3 separate regions of the Homo sapiens genome follow, and regions 1 and 2 are each linked to region 3. Evidence: promoter capture Hi-C in human tissues and cell types (Jung and others, 2019). All regions are on one chromosome and are shown on one strand. The core of a region is centred on a gene start or on the middle of the fragment in contact, and the rest is flanking DNA. Distances in the headings are between cores, read along the strand shown. Region 1 overlaps KRT33A (keratin 33A). Region 2 overlaps LOC105371777 (a long non-coding RNA gene). Region 3 holds the start of KRTAP4-8 (keratin associated protein 4-8).

The links. The method cuts DNA at HindIII sites, captures the fragments that hold promoters and counts their contacts. A contact is called where the count stands out against the background at its distance.
Region 1: a fragment that was not itself captured here is called in contact with the fragment with the promoter of KRTAP4-8 in region 3 in 3 of the 25 tissues and cell types used here (IMR-90 fibroblasts, bladder and liver).
Region 2: a fragment that was not itself captured here is called in contact with the fragment with the promoter of KRTAP4-8 in region 3 in 4 of the 25 tissues and cell types used here (heart right ventricle, mesenchymal stem cells, stomach and 1 more).

The regions. Positions count from the first base shown.
Region 1 is chr17:41,344,485-41,347,184 of GRCh38, forward strand. It overlaps KRT33A (keratin 33A), which reads right to left. Exons shown (of 7, transcript NM_004138.4): 4 at 2,577-2,700; 5 at 2,360-2,485; 6 at 1,964-2,184; 7 at 1,608-1,752. The coding sequence ends at 1,635. Among named protein-coding and RNA genes, the nearest start is that of KRT33A, 5.0 kb to the right of the region's middle. RefSeq lists enhancers at 1,976-2,476, 2,477-2,700. The HindIII fragment of the contact is 3,560 bases long and covers 1-2,700 here.
Region 2 is chr17:40,855,232-40,857,931 of GRCh38, forward strand. The region is part of intron 1 of LOC105371777 (a long non-coding RNA gene); the gene reads left to right. Among named protein-coding and RNA genes, the nearest start is that of KRT12, 11 kb to the right of the region's middle. RefSeq lists an enhancer at 1,766-2,060. The HindIII fragment of the contact is 6,754 bases long and covers 1-2,700 here.
Region 3 is chr17:41,096,721-41,099,420 of GRCh38, forward strand. It overlaps KRTAP4-8 (keratin associated protein 4-8), which reads right to left and starts at 1,422. Exons shown (of 1, transcript NM_031960.3): 1 at 261-1,422. The coding sequence starts at 1,364. The coding sequence ends at 807. The HindIII fragment of the contact is 2,566 bases long and covers 1-1,507 here.

The DNA of each region.
Region 1 (2,700 bases), core at 59-2,558, 250 kb after region 3:
GTCCGCACCTAAGGGAAGAAGGTGGCCACGAGCAACTGTTGAGGGCTGGTCTCCTTAGCTGTCCTCTGGTATCCACAGCCCTGAATGGAAGGTTTTGGGTATTTTTCCCTGGACATCTCTACCACACCTAAATATATGGTCTGCAAGTTTTGGAGAGAATTTCCAACCCCCACTCTACCTCCTGCCCCTCCCTACCTGTTCTCATAGGTTGATGATATTCTAATCTCTATTAAGAGTTCCCATTCTCAATATCTCTTCATTTCAATCATTGATTTAGAAAAGTAGGAGTAGAGAAGTGAAAAATGAGACTCAATCTCATTTGTGGGCTGGGCCTTGGGTTTCCTTACTTGATTGCTGTTTTTGTTTTTTTAAACATTGCCAAATCTGGATGCCACTGAAGGCAGTAATGTGACATAATGATGGTCCCAACTGCATATAAATAAAAACAGGTGGGGCCAAAGCTCAAGGCTCACTAGGACAAAAGAGACTTTTCCGCCAAATAACCCACTCACAGTTCTCCATCATCTGACGCAGACCCCAGGCAACTGAGCAGAGAACTCCAGCATAGAGTTCCAGGCCCACATCATAGAACTACAGAAAGTCACAAGGAGTCCTTGAGTGCCGAGGCAGGAACAAAGAGAGGAAGGTGAACCAAAGGCACCTCCCCACCATCCAGCCTAGCAGATCCCACACTCCTCCTGGCCACTATATCCCTCTACCCTTTGCTGCTCCTTCCTACTTTCTACCTAAACATTTCAGCACAGCATGGTTGTGTGTGTGCATGTGTGTGTGGTGTACATATGCTTATATGGTATGTGGTTATGTATATGTGTATATGAGATTATATACCATATGTTAAGGTGATAGATTTATATTACCTCAGTACAGGTTTTTTTTTTACTCAAAAGGTTTTCGGATCCCTCCACTTAATGTTTCAGAATAAATAGTTCCTGTGTCTCTAAAGACACCTTCATATGAATTTGCCATTCTGTTTCCCACCACCTTCTTCCCAAACACTAAATCCGGGTTAATAGTCTTTCATGGAGGCTTTTCCATTGAAGGAAATCATAGGCCATATATGGGGTGAATAACCTCTTCATCTGATGGAAAAACTCTGGTTATTTTTTTAATTTATACAAGACAGCCAATTTTGGAATTAATGAGTGAAACAGACAATTATAACTTTTGAATAACAGTTTATTAGGAGGTTAACAAAGGATTTCTATTGCATCTCCAAAGACCAAGAGTGACAAGGAAGATTTGCTCCAATTATGTTCTGTTTCATAGCATGCCCATCAGCTCTATCACATTTAATGGAATTTTCTCTAAATTGTATTATTTAAGTTTTATTCAAGTATAACATGTTATGCAAATGTGTCTTTATGGTGATAGATATTGCTTGATCTTGATCCTGCTGTAGGTCTCTCTATGTGACTCAGAAGACAGATTTTGCAGCCTTATGCTGAAGAATCAAGCCAGGGAATACAGTGGAAGGCTAGAGCTGACCCCTGGAAGCCAGGGTTGATAGAAAGGTTTCTGCCTCTTTCCAAAGTGTGGTCACTGTTGGAGATGTTGGGATGAAGTAGAGTTGAGGTGTGACTGATGCCTTTCTTCTCCTCCTGGTTGTGGGGCCTCTAGTACCCAAATGTGTTGCAAGGCCCACACCGAGCACGTAGGCCACAGGGATTAGAGATACAGGGCCCAGTGGACTTGTCACATGCATTGGTTGTGGCGCAGGGGTTGGAGGGGAGCCTGTGGGCAGAAAATCATTGGAGCAAGTTAGAGTAAAATGAGCTGAAGAGATTGGAAAATACTAAAAGGGCTTTGTGTAAGAATATTGTTCCTCCTTGGACTTCCTCCAAACAAAAGCTTGAAATTATAAATTCATTTCCATCAAGAAGACTATTCATCTCCACAGCAACCTAACATGCCCCAAGGAGAAGATTACTACCCCCATACTGACTTGCAGTCCTCGCTCTCCAGCAGGCTCCGGTACGTGTTGATCTCACACTCCAGCCGCGCCCGCACGTCCAGCAGCACCTGATACTCCTGGTTCTGCCGCTCCAGGTCACTGCGGATCTCCGCCAGCTGGGACTCCACGTTGGTGATCAGTCTCTGCACCTGGGACAGCTGGGAGCTGTAGCGGGCCTCGCTCTCTGTCAGCGTGTTTTCCAGAGAGTCTCGCTGTGGTGGGGAAGATTGAGAGTGTCAGAGAGCTGCTCCTTATAAGGTTCCTCCATGGGGTTCCAAAGAACTCACAAGCTCCAAGAGCTAAGGAGAGTGTGTGGCCCCAAGGGCATCCCCAAGACTCTGCCTCCCAAGTTCCCATCGCTCACCAGCAGGTCTGAACAATACACACCAGGTTGTGCTGGGCCTGCAGCTCGATCTCCAGGGCATTGACCGTGCGTCTCAGCTCGATGATCTCCGCCTGGTAGGACTGCAGCTGCTCCGAGCTGGATACCACCTGCTTGTTCAGCTCCTCGGTCTGAAACACCCAAGGGGAGAAAGGATCAGACCCTGCCTCCGGGGCCCTGGGGGGCCTCGGGTCCTGAGTGGCCACGTGCTTAGATGCCCACCTGCGTGGCGAACCATTGCTCCACTTCCCTGCGGTTGGTTTCCACCAGGGCCTCATACTGACTCCTGGTCTCATTCAGGACCTGGTTCAGGTCCACAGTGGGAGCAGCGTCCACCTCCACGTTG
Region 2 (2,700 bases), core at 129-2,628, 240 kb before region 3:
TAGACAGGCACCGTGGTTTGCACCTTTCATCAGGCATCTGACATTTGACTAAAATGGCAGTAGTCTGAGGTGGGAGGATCACTTGAGCCCAGGAATTTGAGGCTGCAGTGAGCTATGAGCACACCATTGCACTACAGCCTGGGTGACAGAGAGCGACCCCATCTCTGAAGAAAGCACATCTTATAGTTTCAAAGTGCTTTATGGCTTGTTAAGCTCCTTCACAGAAGTTGGCTTATTTGATGCTCACAACTTGTGATAGAGGGAAGATAAATATTATTCCCCCCTCCCCATATGTTGGGTGAGAAAAGTGCACTTTTTTTTTTTACAAAAGTGGAATAATTTAGGATTGTGCATGAAGGGAAGAAAAAGAATAAATATGTCTGGGGGAAATATGTAAACCAGTTCATTTCTTTAGTTGTAGAGAGACTTTTTTTCTTTGCATAATAATAGCAGGTAATATTTAGTGCTTACTATATGCCAAGTGTGAATTGACCCATAGAATTCTCATAATAGGGCGTGAAGCAGGTATCCTTTTTTGCCTTGATTTTAGGGAACAGAGAACTATGGAACAGAGAGGTAAGTAAAACCATTAGAAAGTGCCAGAGCTGGGACCCAAACTCAGGCCTTTGAACTGTGCTTTTAACCTCTATGCTCAGTGGTGTACTGGTGTAAAACAGTTTTCTGGGAAATACATTTTAAAAGCCCAAGTTCCATTTGTGTAAATACTCCCATCATGGCCAATTTCAAGCTGCCCATGGTTTAATAGCCAGCTTGGAAAATTCCTGAATATTTACTGATCAGTGATTAAGAGCCAGCTTGCCCTAGGACACCTTTGACGATCCTACATGGCCTCTCTGCGCCTGTGGACAGTATCATCTGAAGAAAGAATATTCAATTATTATTTTAAAATTGACTATTGAGTTAATATTTACTTACAATGAAATATATTCGTTTTAAATGTGCAGTTTGAAGAGCCTTGCTAAATGGACCCATCACCACAGTCAAGATACGGAACACTTCCATCGGTCCCAAAGGTTCTCAGGTGCCCCTTCCAGGTTAACCAGTTAATTCTCACTCCTCCCACACCTTTCAGCTCAGGTGACCACTGAGCTTATTTCTGTCACTATAGATGAGATTTTATCTTTCTGAAAGTTTCATATAAATGGAATCATACAGTATGTATTCTTTTGTGTCTGGTTTCTTTAGCTCAGCACAATCTTGGATTCAGTTCCAAGATTTAAGAAACATTTACTACCCCATAAAAAAATCATTTACTCAGCTATATGATTAAGAATTTCATTTTCATTTGATATTTGAGTATGTTTTTAAAGCCTGAGTAGTTATTGATTGGCTGGTTTTCTTAACTCTAAATAATTGCTAACTTTCTTTTTCACTTTATGCCTTGTAGAACTGCCTCCTTACTGGTGAACTTTTTGGAAACTAATTATTAGTTAAATAAGACAATTTTAATTTGCTAAGTTGATCGTTGTAAAAGGTTTGCTTTTTTTCTTCTTTCTTGTTTTAAAAGATAAACCTTCTAGTATCAATACATCTCAAGTGGCTTGAACACACAGGCTTAGCTTATTTTTATTTTATTTTATTTTATTTTTTGAGACGGAATCTTGCTCTGTTGCCCAGGCTGGAGTGCAGTGGTGTGATCTTGGCTCACTGCAACCTCCGCCTCCTGGGTTCAAGCTATTCTCCTGCCTCAGCCTCCCTAGTAGCTGGGACTACAGGCGCACGCCACCACTCCTGGCTAATTTTTGTATTTTTAGTAGAGATAGGGTTTCGCCATGTTAGCCAGGCTGGTCTCGAACTCCTGACCTCAAGTGACCCACCTGCCTTGGCCTCCCAAAGTGCTGGGATTACAGGCATGAGCCACCGCGCCCAGCCAGGTTAGTTTATTTTAAAGTTCATTTCTTGAGACTCCAGAAGATGGCACTCTTACAAAGCCTAAAGAAATAAAGCTTTGGCTTTGTTTTTCTACGTGGTTGTTTTTCTAGGTGGTTCCTTCCTGCTGTGACCCATTTGCAAAGCCATTTGTTTGGGAGAATAACATTTATTTTTTTTTCTGATTATCAGAGTCATATATGCTGTTTGTTAAACATTTTAATAAAGGTATTCTTCAAACCCCTTGCTAATCCCCAAGAGATAACTACTATAACAGTTCAGTATATATACAGTATTTTCCAGACCTTCCACTAGCTTTTACACACAACATATGCATATCAAAGTAAAAATTTAAATTTGTAAAATTTTAGATTTTAGGATAATCATAAACAATGTACTTGTCTTTTGCTATAGGATTCTTTATTCAGTTTTTTTTTCTTAGGAGTTCTTTTCTTTAAAGACAGACCTTCCACTTCTGCAATTCATTACTTGCCGAGTCCAAAGGGACCTCTCACATCTGTGTTGAATTAGGGCTTGTGGCCTAGTGAATGAGGGATAGACTCTCATGATAAGGATGCTGCTATGGTCTGAAAGTTTTTGTCCCCCCATATTTGTATGTTGAGACCTAATCACCAATGACCCAGTATTAGGAGGTGGGGTTTTCGAGAGTGGATTAGGTCATGAGGGTGGAGCCCTGGCGAAGGGGATTATTGTCCTTATAAATGAGGCCCTGGGGCATTGCTTTGTCCCTTCTGCCATGTGAGGATATATCGAGAAGCTGTGTATGATCCAGAAAGCGGGTCCTTATCA
Region 3 (2,700 bases), core at 172-2,671:
TATTTTAGTTTATCTGTGACATTACTAGGGGTTTTACGTATCCCAAACCATTCCGTATATCAAATTGAAACAATCAAAAGCTTCTATTTTATTTTAGTTTATGTGTGACATTGGAGCAGTTTGGCACTATGATTTCATCCCTGAAGTCTTACTTTGGAATCATGCTTTGAGAATCCCCTTCTACTGCATTCCCACCTCACCCCCATGAATCAGTAAACTCAGTGAAAATTATCACAAAAAATGCAAAAAACAATAAAAGATTTCTAAATGAAAAGTTTAATACAATATATTTTGTGAACACAATAAAGATAAAGAACTAATAAAATAGAAAAATTCTGACAAACTTGAACAGTGAGAGAAAGAGAGAGCAGGGAGAAAGCGGGAGAGCACGGGAGGGGCAGCCTCCTACCTTTCCAAAAGAAAAGAATGACTGAAAGGCTGACAGACAAATAGTATGTTTGAAAGGGAGATAATGTGTACCTAATTGGGAAGGATATTCTGTAGGCTCAAAATGATTTTAAAAAATGAGGAATTTAGAGGATTGGAATAATTTCTTAGCTAGTGGATTACAAATTAATTCGTATTTGGTGCCATGACTGGAAGAAAAAGAAAGCAAGGGAGGGAGTTTAAAATGAACCAGAATGTTCTCACAGAGTCAGCGGGATGGTGATGGGCTCATTGGATACATGAGGTCCACCCTGCTGAATGACATAAATCCCACTCCATGTGTCCTAATATTCAGCACAGAAGAATGGTCTACATTTGTGGACCAGCGGTGAAGGGAGAGATGAGCCAGGGCAGTGGGCTCAGCAGCAAGAGGAGGCGCAGCACACGGGGCGGGGGCAGGTGGAGATGACACAGGCTGGGCGATAGCAAGTGGTGTGGCAGGAGACTCGGCCACAGACTGGACGCAGGCAGCAGCAGGGGCGGCAGCAGCTGGATTCACAGCAAGAGGGGCGGCAGCAGCTGGAGATGCTGCAGCTGGGGCGGCAGCAGTTGGGCTGGCAGCACACAGACTGGCAGCACTGGGGCTTGCAGCAGCTGGACACACAGCAGCTGGGGCGGCAGCAGCTGGAGATGCAGCAGCTAGGGTGGCAGCAGGTGGGCTGGCAGCACACAGACTGGCAGCACTGGGGCTTGCAGCAGCTGGACACACAGCAGCTGGGGCGACAGCAGGTGGGCTGGCAGCACACAGACTGGCAGCACTGGGGTCTGCAGCAGCAGGACACACTGTAGCTGGGGCGGTAGCAGGTGGTCCTGCAGCAGGTGGTCTGACAGCAGCTGGGGCAGCAGCAGGTCTCCTGGCAGAGGTCTTGGCCACAGCCTTGGTCAGAGCACACGGAGCCACAACAGGAGTTGACCATGGTGTCAGAGGGTGAAGGATCTATTTGGGTTTCCAAGAGAGTAAAGTTCTTGAGTTTGGAAGTTTCCTGGGTCCATAGCCCCTTTATACCCGCCTGAAGGCCCGTTGTCACCACGTCATTATTTCCTTGTTATTATTTACCTACTGAAAAAATTAATCATGTAATTACATCATTGTGTGTTTCTAGTTAAATACTCCAAAACAGAGAAAATAACTCATTTCCTTTTCCTGCTGTGCTCCTGTGTTTCCATTGGAAATGCTTGTCATATTTCTTCCTTGGTGGGGGTCACCTTTGTCCCTGGTCTATGCAGTGTCTTTTACAAAGCACTGGTCACAGGACTCTCTGACATTTTGTTTTTAAATATGACTCTCCCTCCTACCTGTAGATTGCTGTCTGCAAATAATGGGGGACGATTTTTATAATGTGAATGTATCTTTCATTGTCAAAGAACGTCCTGGTCAGGTGAAATGTTGGGAAGGAATTAGAAGGAAGGACTCATTTGTGGAAGGATCTCCCATCTGTAATGAGGATGACTCTGATCCCGTGTGTGCATCTCGGATGGTCGGGCAGATGGTCAGATCCCAACAAGTTCTAAACTCTTTGTCAGATCTTATTCCACAGCCTCCAGCAAAAGTACTTACCCATGACTCACTGCCTTTAAAGGGTAAAAACACATTTTGCTGTATTTCTTACAGTATAGGCATTAAGAGTAGGAAGTTTTGATTTATCTTTTTTTTTTTTTTTTTTTCTGACGGAGTCTCCCTCTGTCACCAGGCTGGAGTACAGTGGCATGATCTCGGCTCACTGCAACTTCCACCTCCTGGGTTCAAGCAGTTCCTTTTCCTCAGCCTTCCGAGTAGCTGGGACTACAGGTGTGTGCCACCACACCCAGCTTACTTTTGTATTTTTAGTAGAGACAGGGTTTCACCATGTTGGCCAAGATGGTATTGATCTCTTGACCTCATGATCCACCCGCCTTTGCTTCCCAAAGTGTTGGGATTGCAGGCGTGAGCCCCCAACACCCAGCCTGATTAATCTTTGATCATCAAAATTGCGTGATGCATTTTTCATTTACAAAAGCATTTGTTATATATGAAGAATATTTAGAATTATTAAGCCTTCAATAACATGCATCCAAGATGTTCTATTGGGTACTCTGGGTGTAGAACAGATAAACCCTCATCTTTTTCTTGCAGGTACTTGCATAAGACACATGGATAGGAAACAGTTTGGCAGAAATGAAAAGAATTACAATTATTTTCATTAAACAACTAAAATAAAAAATGTATAATATGTGGATAAGTTCCATACACCCTCATGGTATGTATATTACTTG